4 separate regions of the Homo sapiens genome follow, and all the other regions are linked to region 1. Evidence: promoter capture Hi-C in 16 types of primary human blood cells and fetal thymus (Javierre and others, 2016). All regions are on one chromosome and are shown on one strand. The core of a region is centred on a gene start or on the middle of the fragment in contact, and the rest is flanking DNA. Distances in the headings are between cores, read along the strand shown.

Evidence for each region. Contacts are between HindIII fragments. The CHiCAGO score rates a contact against its expected background, and 5 or more counts as called.
Region 2: the fragment with the promoter of CCNC here is called in contact with the fragment with the promoter of SIM1 in region 1 in 5 of 17 cell types (total B cells, monocytes, naive B cells and 2 more); the score reaches 11.0 in total B cells.
Region 3: a fragment that was not itself captured here is called in contact with the fragment with the promoter of SIM1 in region 1 in 3 of 17 cell types (naive B cells, total B cells and fetal thymus); the score reaches 9.7 in naive B cells.
Region 4: a fragment that was not itself captured here is called in contact with the fragment with the promoter of SIM1 in region 1 in 1 of 17 cell types (M2 macrophages); the score reaches 5.1 in M2 macrophages.

The regions. Positions count from the first base shown.
Region 1 is chr6:100,463,423-100,466,740 of GRCh38, reverse strand. SIM1 (SIM bHLH transcription factor 1) reads left to right here and starts at 1,820. Exons shown (of 12, transcript NM_005068.3): 1 at 1,820-2,127; 2 at 2,806-3,318. The coding sequence starts at 3,273. The HindIII fragment of the contact is 823 bases long and covers 1,116-1,938 here.
Region 2 is chr6:99,567,128-99,570,445 of GRCh38, reverse strand. CCNC (cyclin C) reads left to right here and starts at 1,786. Exons shown (of 12, transcript NM_005190.4): 1 at 1,786-1,950. The coding sequence starts at 1,919. It also overlaps the pseudogene TSTD3. RefSeq lists enhancers at 1,429-1,478, 1,599-1,888, 2,009-2,088. The HindIII fragment of the contact is 11,578 bases long and covers 1-2,989 here.
Region 3 is chr6:99,621,601-99,624,918 of GRCh38, reverse strand. No RefSeq gene overlaps it. Among named protein-coding and RNA genes, the nearest start is that of PRDM13, 16 kb to the right of the region's middle. The HindIII fragment of the contact is 5,828 bases long and covers 1-3,318 here.
Region 4 is chr6:99,906,120-99,909,437 of GRCh38, reverse strand. No RefSeq gene overlaps it. Among named protein-coding and RNA genes, the nearest start is that of MCHR2-AS1, 86 kb to the left of the region's middle. The HindIII fragment of the contact is 8,733 bases long and covers 1-3,318 here.

The sequences.
Region 1 (3,318 bases), core at 571-3,070:
GAACACAGTCGAATGGAAAACCTCCTCTTAACCCTAAGTGTCATTGCTTCGCCTGGCAGCTATATGTGACCTGGTTGGAGGGGAGAGGAGGGTCAAGAAAGGTTATTTCCCCTCTCCACACGCACCCTCCACCCCCGACTTTACATGTAGTAGCCAACTTGACCTTATCTGATCTTTCTGGAATCTTGTGTATAAGTGAGCCACAGTGCATCTCTCGCTATCTTCTAGCTATGTCTTGTTAAAAGCGCATCATTGGGTGGTTGGAAGGCGCCCAGAACCAGATCTCTAAGTGGCTACAGCCACTGGGGAAATGACTCCTCCTAGATTAGAGTCCATTAGCTGGATTCCAGTTTTGAAAGACCTACAAAATCTCCGTGCTTCTTTCTTTTTCTTTCTATCCAAAACTTTCACCTCCTCCAGCCAGGTGTTGCCCAGATATGTAAATAACACCAGAAAGCTGCTGTTGTCCTTCTACGACTATCTTACTGCCATCGGGCGGCAAGGAGGTGGCAGATGTCTGTATTTTTGAACAAACACTCTTAAAGTTGTTCTGAATATCAGCAGAATGGCACACACCCCTCTTCAAAGTATTTATTTTCTCAGTGGCAATTAGCGCCACAAACGAGAGGATGAGTGCCCCGTCACTGGTGTTCTCACTGATTTTTATGGTAGATGAAACAACTCCCTCCAAACGCACCTCTAGGAGCCGAATCTGGTCACCGGCGTACCAAAACCAAGCCGGGAGTCGAGTCTGTAGGGGGTGATTCGTGAGGACAACAATTGTTTTTGGGACAATTTGACTTTTTCTTGATGCTACCTGTTGTGTTTTCTCAGATGAGAGAAAGAGAAGGCGGTTCAAATTAGAGGGTCTCTAAAAGATAATTAGTCAGCAAGAGTCCTGGTGAGCGTTTGTTTAAACAGCTCCTATTAGGGAACCGCGAGCATCGTTAAGTTCATTCATGTAGACTGTATCCTTTCTGTAAGGAATAATCATGTTGGACTTTTGTTTCCTGAAACAAAACCCGACAAAGAGTTGGCTAATGTTTAAGATAAAGGACTGTTGGGAGCTATGTATCTCTATATCAATCATTCTATTTTGCCCTGAAATGTAAGCTTTTCCCCTAGTGTCCCCCTAGCTGCTCCCCATAGGAAAACTCCCCGGCCGAGTTTCCACGGTGAAAAAAATCAGCCCCAAACCCAAGCCATTTCGAAAAAGACGCACTTCTTTGGGATTAATTTAAAGACAGTTATTGTATTTATTTCCTCTGGCAATGAATTCCGTGTCGCCATGGTTTCAGAGAAACGAGAAAGAGAAAATAACTCCCCAAACCGGCCTCGCGCACGCCGTCGGCCAGCGACTGCCAGCGGGATGGGCCTTTGGGCGAACCCTGCCTCCTCCGCCGGTAGACCTAACCCGCAGGCCCGACCTCCGCTGCCTCCGGACGTTCCCGGTTCTGCTGGGCCGCCGCGCTGGACTGAGCGCTCAACCACCCGACCCCAGGGAGCTCGAGGAGCGCGGGTCGCGCACGACGTCGGGAAGGCCCAGGAGGCCGCGAGCAGCGGCGGCAACCGGACAGCGCCGACCCGGCACCCTGAGCTCATTAGGAGTCCAGCGGTCCCGCGGGTAGTAAGATTCAGAGCCCGGAGCCTGGGCGCGCGGAGGGCGGCTCGGGGCCGACTCGTGTCACTCAGCCCTATTGGCCAATGAGCGCCTCGCCCCTGGCCGCGCCAGGCCAATGGGAGGCGAGGGGGCTTGTGAGTGGCATTGAGGGAGGGCGGGAGAGAGGCGGCCCCGGAGTGAAGTTGAAGCTAAACCCTTAAGCTATAAAGAAGTTACGGGGGGCAGTTTTCGGCTTCCAATTAGGAATAATAGTGAACTGGCTTCGTAGCAACTACGGAGGACCAGGATTCTAAAATCACCTCACTCGTCCCAAAGCTTGCATCCTCCTCTTTCTGCCACGCACCCCTCCTCCAATTCATGATCCAGAAAAGGGAGCCGGGAATGCTCTGCTCCTCTCTGCCGGTGGGAAGCGGAGAGGCCGGCGGTGTCGCTGGGTTGGACGGTAGGCATGAGAACAGTTAAGAGATGGGCGCCCCCGAAACCTCTGCCGCTTGTGGGGACTGAAGGTAGGTGAAGCAGAAGACGCCCCGCGCCCGCCCAGCAGCCCCGCAGCTCCGCGGTGGTGTGGGAGAGGCCGCGGCGCCTCCCACCCCCGGGGGAGCCTGCGAGGGGCTGTCGCGAGCGCGCCACCTGTTAACCTGGCGCTGCTGGGCCCCGCTTGTTGCAGCCCCTGCTGGGCAGCCAGAGCGCTGGGTCGCCTTGGGAGTCCCGAGAGACTTGGTGTGTAAGTGTCACTTTTTGAGGAATCCCTCAGACTTGAGACCCAAGTTAAAGAGGTAGCCAAGGTCCAGATCTGCCAAGGTAGGGAGCTGAAAGGCCCCTGCCTCGCCTTGGAGGAATTCTGATTTGCGGAAACCTGCTTTCCTGGGACGTGCGCCCGGCCTGGGCGCGGACTCGGGGATCCGCGGCGGAAGATCCCTTGCGGGTCTTCAGAAATATGTATTTTGTTGTTTGGGCAACTTCCCAGGGGTCTGGAGGATGCGGCTGGCATGGGTGAGGGAATGCCAGCATTATTTGCAGGGGGCTGTCTCGCTGCCGATTTACCCGTTTCTTTAAAAACAAACCCAAAACGCCTGGCTAGGCGCACTGAGGCCCTTTCCGGCCGTGTTTTTGGAATTGGGACGAGTGTGTGAGTACTTGTGGAGCCGCTGATCTCTTATGCTCTGATGCTGTTGTCTTCACAGGGCCTTGAAAGAGTTGTCTGGGGTTCCTGCTCTTCCCAAAGGGGCTCGGAGATACCTTAAATGCCGCGAGACTGAAGAGCAAACGTCAGGGATTATTATGTCGATTTTCCGAGGACCAGGGTTCGCAGCTGGCAGTAGAAGAAAAGGCTGGCTCCTCAGGGGTCCCACTGGCATTTGATACCCTGAACGACCCTCAGGATTGCCCAAATTCGGTGGATCGCCCAAATTCGGTGGATCAGCAACTTTCCTATACTGCATCCCGAATTTTCAAAGAACATATTTTCCGTTCACCCCCGCTGGTCTTTTACTGCCATCAATACACTGTTCTTGGTGCAAATACTTCAGCCTCTTTATTCAAAGTATGTTTTATGTTTTTGCCAAATATGATCTCTAATTGAAAGTTTATTTTTGGTTTTGGATGAATCTGCGGAGCTTAAGTTGTGAGAAGAAAGGGGGAACAAGACACAATGAAAGAAAAGTCCAAAAATGCTGCGCGGACTAGGAGGGAGAAGG
Region 2 (3,318 bases), core at 537-3,036, 900 kb after region 1:
TCTCCACCTACAATGTGAAAAATACTGTCTTAAGTTGCCTCAGATGCTGACTGTCTATAAACAAGTTTCTGGAGTGTCCAATTATTTAGAAAAATAATTATAAGTTTTACAATAAATGCATTGCTACAATGAAAATGAAATGGAAAATACAAAATATTTCGTCTTGTAAAATTAAATTATGGCTTTTTTTGCAGTATGTTTCTATTAGGTGCATACATGTACATACATGTGCATACATATATGCATGAATATTTTTAGATGTTCTGCAAAACTGTTGATTCCGCTGCTCTGTAAGTTTGCACTTTATCACTCCAAAATAACTCCATTAAGATCGCGGCCGAGATCTCGCCACTGCACTCCAGCCTGGGCGACAGAGCGAGACTCCGTCTCAAAAAAAAAAAAAAAAAAGATCGCGGCCGGGCGCGGTTGCTCACGCCTGTAATCCCAGCACTTTGGGAGGCCGAGGTGGGCGGATCACGAGGTCAGGAAATGGAGACCATCCTGGCCAACATGGTGAAACCCTGTCTCTACTAAAAATACAAAAATTAGCTGGGCGTGGTGGTGTGAGCCTGTAGTCCCAGCTACTTGGGAGGCTGAGGCAGGAGAATCGCTTGAACCTGGGAGGCAGAGGTTGCAATGAGCCTAGATAGCGCCACTGCACTCCAACCTGGGCGACAGAGCAAGACTCCGTCTCAAAAAAAAAAAAAAAAAAAAACCGCCTGATCCAGGCCGGGCCTGGTAGCCCACGCCTGTTAATCCCAGCATTTTGGGAGGCTGAGGCTGACGGATCACCTGAGGTTAGGAGTTCCAGACCAGCCTAGCGAAATCCCCTCTCCACTAAAAATACAAAGATTAGATGGACGTGGTGGCACGCGCCTGTAATCCCTGTAATCCCAGCTACCTGGGAGGCTGAGGCAGCAGAATCATTTGAACTGGAAAGGCAGAGGTTGCTGTGAGCCGAGATTGTGCCACTGCATTCCATCCTGGGTGACAGACCCAGACTCCGTCTCAAAAGTAAAAAACAGGCAGGGTGCGGTGGCTTACGCCTGTAATCCCAGCACTTTGGGAGGTTGAGGAGGGCGGATCACGAGGTCAGGAGTTTGAGACTATCCTGGCCAACATGGTGAAACCCTATCTCTACTAAAAATACAAAAATTAGCTGGGCATGGTGGTGCGCGCCTGCAGTCCCAGCTACTCGGGAGGCTGAGGCAGGAGAATCGCTTGAACTCCTGGAGGCGGAGCTTGCAGTGAGCCGGGATCGTGCCACTGCACTCCAGCCTGGAGACAGAGCAAGACTCCGTCTCAAAATAAATAAATAAATAAAGTAAAAAAAAAAAAGGAACACTTGATCCCTGAGAACAAAGTCATCTTCATTTATTTCTCTTTCCAATCACAGGAAAAATAAGTCACAAAACCTTGTACTTTATTACAATGCCACATTGTTCTGTTTTTGAAGTCCTGGAAGAGGTAATAACAGAACCCCGTATCTGAGCCACTTCGCCTAGGTTAGACCCACTCAGCAACTCCCGTGCTGAAGACAGGAGACCGAGCGGCTTGGGCCCCCGGCCAGAATTCTCAAGACGCTCTCGCGAGAGCCTTCCAACCGCCGCGAGCTCTCGTGAACACTAGTTCTCTTCAATCTCAGCACCTCCAAGGGTCAGCACCTCCCCTCCGGCTCCCTCCGCTACCGCGGGCCGGAACTTTTGTCGATAGGAACGGGTTTGCACAGTTGAGTGTTGTCGGCCGGCGTGAAGGAGACTAGGGGGCCATCCTCTTCCTTTCGCCGTCGCCGCCGCGGAGCGGAGTCGAGCCGAGCTGATTTGATCGAGGAGCGCGGTTACCGGACGGGCTGGGTCTATGGTCGCTCCGCGGGCCGCTCCGCCGGCTGGTGCTTTTTTATCAGGGCAAGCTGTGTTCCATGGCAGGGAACTTTTGGCAGAGCTCCCACTAGTAAGCGATCTTCCGTCTTCTCACCTGGGGCCGGTTTTTGGGGGAGCTGTGAGGACGGGGCCTGTGACTCCCCTGGGCCTGGATCCCAGCTCAGTTCCGAGTGCCGGGGTCCTCACGGGAGACCGCAGCGGTCAGAATCAAGATGCGCTTTTCTGAGGCGACTCCCCTCCCCGCCCCCAGCCCCAGTTTCGGGGAGGGAAGGATCTGTGAGGGGGAGGGGTGGGAGAGAGTTTCGTCTCCCGGGAAGGAACGTTTCGGAGTTTAATTTCGGATTCTTGGTTTAGCTAGGCCGCGGGGGGTCGGATAGAGTGGGCACAGGTACGGGAAGTGTGACTCAGCTCAAGACTGTGAGGCTACCTGTTCAGGACAGTTGTGGCGTGCTTTTACCTGGGGTTTCTTCGGGTGATCGGCGTCGTGGTCTTTTGTCATTCACTGTATATCTTGAGTGGATTTAATATTATGAGGAGAGGAGAGAGTCTGGCTTGTTTCTGCCTACTAACCGCTTCTTGCGCGTACTTTATGTCTAGATGGAGTTTTATATTGATAAGGTATAGGGCAGGTGCCCTCTAAATTTATCCATTTCATTAGCCTGTGCTTTATATTTTGTTTTAAAGGCCTATTTTTCCAGTGACTTTGTTTACCTGTTTCTTTAACCTTTTTCATGAATAAGTTCTTGTTTCTGTCAGTGACCATGTGAGAGCTAGAATAATATTAAAAACATTTATCCCTAAATACATTTGTTTAAGCAGGCAGGAAGGTGCGTTATGGGGTAAATTGAACATTTGAGTAGGCTTTCCACTGTATAGTTGAAAGATGAACAGAATTTGACAAGGTATCTTGGTATAATTTTTTATGCTAAGAAAGCATTAGTAAGTAATTTAAATTTCGATTCTGTGAATAGGATCTGTTCCTGATGTTCATTTTTTAGCCCTTTGCAAAGAGAAAAAAAGAAACAATGAACTCAGTAACCTATTTAAGGAAAAGCAGGTTTTCCTCTTGCTATAAAGTGATTCTGTGGAGATGACATGTTAAAGAAGCTTTACCACTGATCATATGTGTGTGTGTGTATATATATGTGTGTGTGTGTATGTATATATATATGTGTGTGTATATATGTTGCATTGTTTTCACACACTGAAATATTGCTTGGGCAAAATTAAAGTATCGAAAGTTTAGGTATTGGAGTTAGAGCTCCTGAAAAAAAAAGTTTAGGTAGTGGAGAAGAGATATTCTGATAAACTCTGAAAGAAGCTGAGAGAATTGACAAGTAGCTGACTGTTGATTTTTCAGTTTTTCAACTTAAAAAAAAAAGATCCTGCCTTATTTTCAATAGTGTTCTCATTATGCTTTCATTTATTCATAGCATTC
Region 3 (3,318 bases), core at 443-2,942, 840 kb after region 1:
TCTCACAGGTAGAAAGATGCAGAGGCAGGATGCAAACTCAGCTCTACTGAACTCCAAAGCCCACATACTCTCTTAACCACTGCATCACACTTCCTCACAGGTGGATCTTCATCTCTCAGCAATACTGCCTGTTTGCCATTCTGCCCCATAGCAACACTGTAATGCCTGGAATTCCTCATATACATTCGTGCTGCTTCCCCACTCACTATGCTCATGCTATTCTGTCTCTTGGAAATGTCCTTCCTTCTCCTTTTAACCATGACCTAGATGACTCTTACCCATCTTGTTTAAGACTCAGCTCAGGTGTTGCATCCTCCAGGAGGCCTTTTCCTATATAACTCCTTCCCTGCCCTCACCCTTCTCTCTCTAAGAAGGTACCCTTCCTCTGTGTTCATCTCCATCACTATACCCACCACATTGTGTTATCAATTTCTGTTCTTATGTTTGCCTTCTCCACTAGACCATGAGCTTGAGACAATCTTTCTGTTTTGTTTTGTGTTTTGTTTTGTTTTTAGACAGGGTCTCACTCTGCCACCCAGGCTAGAGTGAGACCTCTGCCTCCTGGGCTGAAGCAATCCTCCCACCTCAGCCTCCTGAGTAGCTGGCACCACAGGCACACACAACCATGCCCGACTTTTTCTATTTTTGATAAAGATGGGTTCTTGCCATGTTGCCCAGGCTGGTCTCACACTCCTGAGCTCAATGGATCAGCCCATCTTGGCCTCCCAAAGTGCTGGGATTACAGACGTGAGCCACTGCACCTGGCTTGAGACCATCTTAATCATCCATATGTCCCCAGCCAGTGCTGTGCCTGGCATGTAGTGGGCTCTCAGTGCTTCATCAATGTTCAGAGTAAGAAATAAAGAATGTTTAATCAACTAATTCTCAACTATTTGTTGAGTATCTACTATGTCTAATGTATGTATTAAAGTTTTGGGCTGGGACAGTCAGGGAAGGCTATAGAGAAAAGAGAAGATTTTAAATGGGGTCGAAAGATGTACAAGGCTCAGAAAGCAAAGCCACATATCAATAATCTAAATCTAATGTTTGAGCAAATGCTTAGGCTGGGGACCATGGTTAGCTATAAATGGCAAAGCTGAGAAGTTGATTGTCTTCCTCTTGCTCTTGAATTCTATCAGATCAGCTGTTTCCTTATCCAAGAGCAAAGTGTCAGATTCAAGCTGTGTTCCAGGGCATTTAACCTTTCAATGATGAGCATCTCACCTTAACTCTAAGATCATCTCCTAGGACAGAAAATTGTGGAAATGCTTCTAAATAAATTAAAAACCTAGAGACGGTTAGATCATGAGATACATTAATAATAATGAAATGTCAGAAACATGTGCAGCTACATGTAATGAACTCAACAACTGTCCGAAGGTCATAGAGGTCTTCCTGCAAAATACATGTCATTCTGTTTACATCAAACACAGAAAACTCATTTACAAGTGAATGTCATTTTCATCTTTGTTCCATGGCCAAGTACATCTCATTTGCATTTGTTTTTTTCCCTACTGGAGTGCTTGTCACTATTCTACAGCTGGTGTGGGTTGTGCTCAGTACCTGCTACTTACCATAGGCTCAGGCTCTAGTCATCCAGTTACAAGTCTGAATCATAATCCCAAAGACGGTTTTACATAAGGTATTTTTAAATAATATGCATCATTGGGAAATCAAAATTTGGTGATAGTGTTCACAGGAAAAAACTAAAAGTTCAAATGCATGTGCATGCAAACATACTCTTTTCCCATGTGAGCCCAACATTAGGATTTCTATATTGCTAGGCCTGGAGAGGTACAGTTCTATAGCTAAGGCCTCCCAAGGATCCTTTGCCAAATTCCCAAGAGAACAAAAGAATGGGGTGGAGGCCCCATTGTTGTCTCCCTATGTACAGAGTATGATCAAGAGCTAAAGGTAACTCTGAGTTTTCCAACTATGGAGAGAAGGACCAGTTGAACAGTCAGCCAATCATCCCTCTCCCAGACGCTGGTCTGATTCTGACACTGTCCTGGCCAGCTCAGCATCCTCAATAGCTCTTTCCTCACTGCAATCAAAGCAGTAGCACCTTATGAAACACACCTGCAGCCCACCTACAAAATCACTTAACACAAGTTATTCATTGAAGTGTCTTTAAGGTAATAAAAGATTGAAAACAACCCAAAGGTCATCAACAGGAGAATTGGTTAAATCTGTCTTTCTACATCTACACAATAGAGTACTATGTAGCAATAAAAGAAAAAAAAAGTGAGGAGGCTCTCTTTGAATTATCATGGAAAATTTCTCCACAGTATATTAATTTGAATAAAAAGCAGGATACAGAAGAGTGAATATTAAATATTTAAGACAGGGAAGAAAATAAAAATACATTCATTCTTGGATATTTGTATTTACAAAAAGAAAACTAGATGTATACAAGAAACTAAAATAAGTGATTACAAGTATAGATCAAGATTTTTTGGTTTTGAAATTCATAGAATTTGGGGGATCTACTTTAAGAAATAAAACACAGAATTAGGTACTGGTCTGTATTTGTCCATTTTCATGCTGCTGATACCTGAGACTGGGAAGAAAAAGAGGTTTAATTGGACTTACAGTTCCACATGGCTGAGGAAGCCTCAGAATCATGGTGGGAGGCAAAAGGCACTTCTTACATGGCAGCAGCAAGAGAAAAAATGAGGAAGAAGCAAAAGCGGAAACCCCTGATAAACCATCAGCTCTCTTGAAACTTATTCAGTATCATGAGAATAGCATGGGAAAGACCGGCCCCCATGATTCAATTACCTCCCCCTGGGTCCCTCCTACAACACTTGGGAATTCTGGCAGACACAATTCAAGTTGAGATTTGGCTGGAACACAGCCAGACCATATCAAGGTCTTATATAAGGATTTCACGCCAGTGAGCTTCGTGGTACCTCTACCCGTGGTTGATTACCTATGAGCTGACAGAAGTGCACAGAAATGAGATTGGATTAAGACTCCTAGATAGATACCTATTTAGACAGTTTTGTTCTTTGAAAATTGAGTATATTTCTTATTTAGAATGCAAAACCTACCTTTTTTTTTTTTTTTTTTTTTTTTTTGGTAGATACAGGAGTCTCGTTATGTTGCCAAGGTTGGTCTTGATCTCCTGGCCTCAGAGTGATCTTTCTGCCTTGGCCTCCCAAAGTGCTGGAATTATGGGCATGAACCACCTCACCTGAGCATCTCAATCATCTTATTTAAGTTTGGCTCCATTCTGCAACCTTGTGTCTGCAGGGATTCTCCCTCAGCCCGACTTTTTCCTGATGACAATGTGCCTAGCATTCTGTTTTGAGTTTG
Region 4 (3,318 bases), core at 588-3,087, 560 kb after region 1:
CTCATTTTCCTTTTAATCTTGTTAATGGTGTCCTTTGATGAACCATCTTTTTTTTTTTTTTTTAGATGGAATCTTGCTCTGTCGCCCAGGCTGGTGTGCAGTGTGGAGCATGGCACAATCTCAGCTCACTGCAACCTCTGCCTTCCAGGACCAAGAAATTCTCCTGCCTCAGCCTCCCGAGTAGCTGAGATTCGAGGCGAGTGCCACCACGCCCGGCTAATTTTTGTATTTTTAATAGAGACAGGGTTTCACCATGTTGACCAAATGGGTCTCAAACTCCTGACCTCAAGTGATCTACCCACCTCGGCCTCCCAAAGTGCTGGGATTATAGGCGTGAACCACCGCACCTGGCCCCATCTTTTATTTTTATATTTTTACATCATATCCATCAGCTTTTTTCCTTTGTGATTTTCTCAGTTTTTATGCTTGATGAACTCCTTTTCCATTCTCAGATTATTTTAATGTAAATATAATTTGGTTATTGTTGGGCAGGGGATATGGTATTTATTACTTCCATTAATGTGTTTCATTTACAAAGAAATTCAATGCCTCTTGAGAATAACTTGAGGACTAGTTGGTGTGTCCTGGCAGTCCCTAAAAAGTAAGAATATGAGACACTGGAGAGAATACATTTTTCTTTGCAAAGGTTCTTTTTTTTAATAGATGCACATAGTTTTGAGATGTATGTGATAATTTAATACATTAATATAATTTGTAAAGATCAAATTAGTGTAGTTGGAATATTCATCTCCTTAAATGTTTGTGTCTTTTTTATGCAAGAACCATTCAAATTCTTTTCTAGCTATTTTGAAATATATAATAGATTATCATAAACTATAGTCACCCTATTTATCTATCTAACATGGTCTTATTTCATCTATCAAACTGTATACCTGTACCCATTAATCAACTTTTCTTCTTTATCCCCACCTCTACCTTCCCCACTCCCTGGTAAACACTAATCTACTCTCTATCTTCATGAAATTCACTTTTTTAGCACCCATATATAAGGGAGAACATATAATATGTGTGTTTCTGTGGTTGGCTTATTTCACTTAACATGACCTTTAGTTTTATCCATGTTGCAGCAAATGACAGGATTTCATTTATTATGGCTGAAAAATACTCCGTTGTGTATATATGCCATATTTTCTTTACCCATTCATCCATTGATGGGCACTTGGGTTGATTCCACATTTCGGTTATTGTGAATAGCGCTGAGATAAACTTGGGAGTGCAAGTGTCTCTTTGATATCTTAATTTCCTTTCATTTGGATATATACGCAATAGTGAATTGCTGGATCGTATGGTAGTTCTATTTTTAGTTTTTTGAGGAACCTACATACTGTTCTCCGTAGTGGCTGTACCAATTTACATTCCCATCACAATGTATGAGGTTTCACCTTTCTCTACATCTTTTCTAGCATTCATTATTGCCTGTCTCTTTTATTAAAGCCATTTTAACTGGGATGAGATGATATCTCACTGTACTTTTGATTTGCATTTCTCTGATGACTAGTGATGTTGGGTTTTTTTTCATATGTCTTTTGGCCATTTGTATGTCTTCTTTCGAGAAATATCCAGATCTTTTGTCCACTTTTTAATCAGATCTTTTTTTGCTACAGAGTTATTTGAGCTCCTTATATATTCTGATCATTAATCCCTTGTCAAGTGAATAGTTTGTAAATATTTTTTCGCTAGACTTTTATTTTACTTATTTTTGTGGGTACATAGTAGGTATATATATATATTGGGTACATGAGATATTTTCATACAGCATGCAATGTGAAATAAGCACATCATGAAGAGTCGGGTATCCATCATCCCCTCAAGTAGTTTGCACATATTTTCTCCCTCATTCTGCGGGTTGTCTCGTCACTTTGTTGATTGTTTGATATAATCCCATTTTTCTATTTTTGCTTAGGTTGCCTGTGCTTTTGAGGTCTTATTTTAAAAAGTATTTGCCCAGACCAATGTCCTAAATCATTTCCTCAATATTTTATTCTAGTAGTTTCATGGCTTCGGGTCTTCGATACTTTCAGGGATCATTTCTATTGCTCATTACAAGGATTCTTAATCTGGGGTGAATCCTCTAAGCCTGTAAAATTCAATGTGCACTGTTCTGGGCAGGGTCCAAAAGCATCCGTGATTCCAAAATGATTAAGAACCATTAGAGATTCTTCAAAGAATGCTTATGCCTGATGTTATCTGGATTCCCTAATATTTAAACGTTAACAATTTTTCTGCAAATGTAGAGCTTGACACCCCAGGAAAAGGAAGAAGAAAAAGGCTAAAGAATAGTGACTGAAGTTTTTAAGCTGAAGAACAAATTCAGCAAAGGATTTTCTGAAGTTGCTACCATACTGAACCCAGACTTCGCAAATGATAACTTACTATATTGGGTGCCAGCCCATATGCCTGTCACTGAAAATTCAATAGATCTGAAAGCTAAATATGACAATCTTTTCACATAATTTAAACTCATAGAATTTCTCAATGGGCTGAGACCTTACAAGCTATCTAATTCTACATTACTCTCCTTCCCAAAGTGTCTCAAACAAGTAGTCAGCAAGCCTATGATTAAGTATATCTAGAGATGGGGAACTTTTTCCTTCTTACGACAATTCATTGCAGAATTTCTCCCTTAAGCCCCTATTTCATGAAGATCTAAGTTTTCCATTTATCTTACTGAATCAGTGGAGCCCAGGTAATCAGACACACCTGCAGGAAATCTGCTGAAACAAACTTTCAGGCCTTTTAAATAAATGAGCTGAGACACAATCAAAACAGCATGTCACTGCCCTGTACAGATTTGTGCTGAAAGGTTTATGAAACAGTGTGAGATTTTGAATACCAAGTGCTCTTTAAAAATGAAACCAGAATTTAAGTTATAAAAATCATGTAGTGCAGTATGAGCTATACTGATTTTATTTTATTTTATTTTTTGAAACAGGGTCTCAGTTTATCACCCAGGCCAAAGTGCAGTGGCATGATCTCAGCTCACTACAACCTCCACCTCCCAGATTCAAGTTATTCTCATGCCTCAGCCTCCCGAGTAGCTGGGACTACAAGCGTGCGCCACCACACCCAGCTAACTTTTGTATGTTTAGTAGAGACGGGGGATTGCCATGTTGGCCATACTAGTCTTGAACTCCTGGCCTCAAGTGATCCGCCCACCTCAGCCTCCCAAAGTGCTGGGACTATAGGCGTGAGCCACCCTGCCCGGCCTATACTGATTTTTAGAACTCCTAAGTTGAGGAAACAGGGACAGTAGTTAATTTCTGTGTAGGTGATTATTAAAGTATAAGGTCAGGCTAT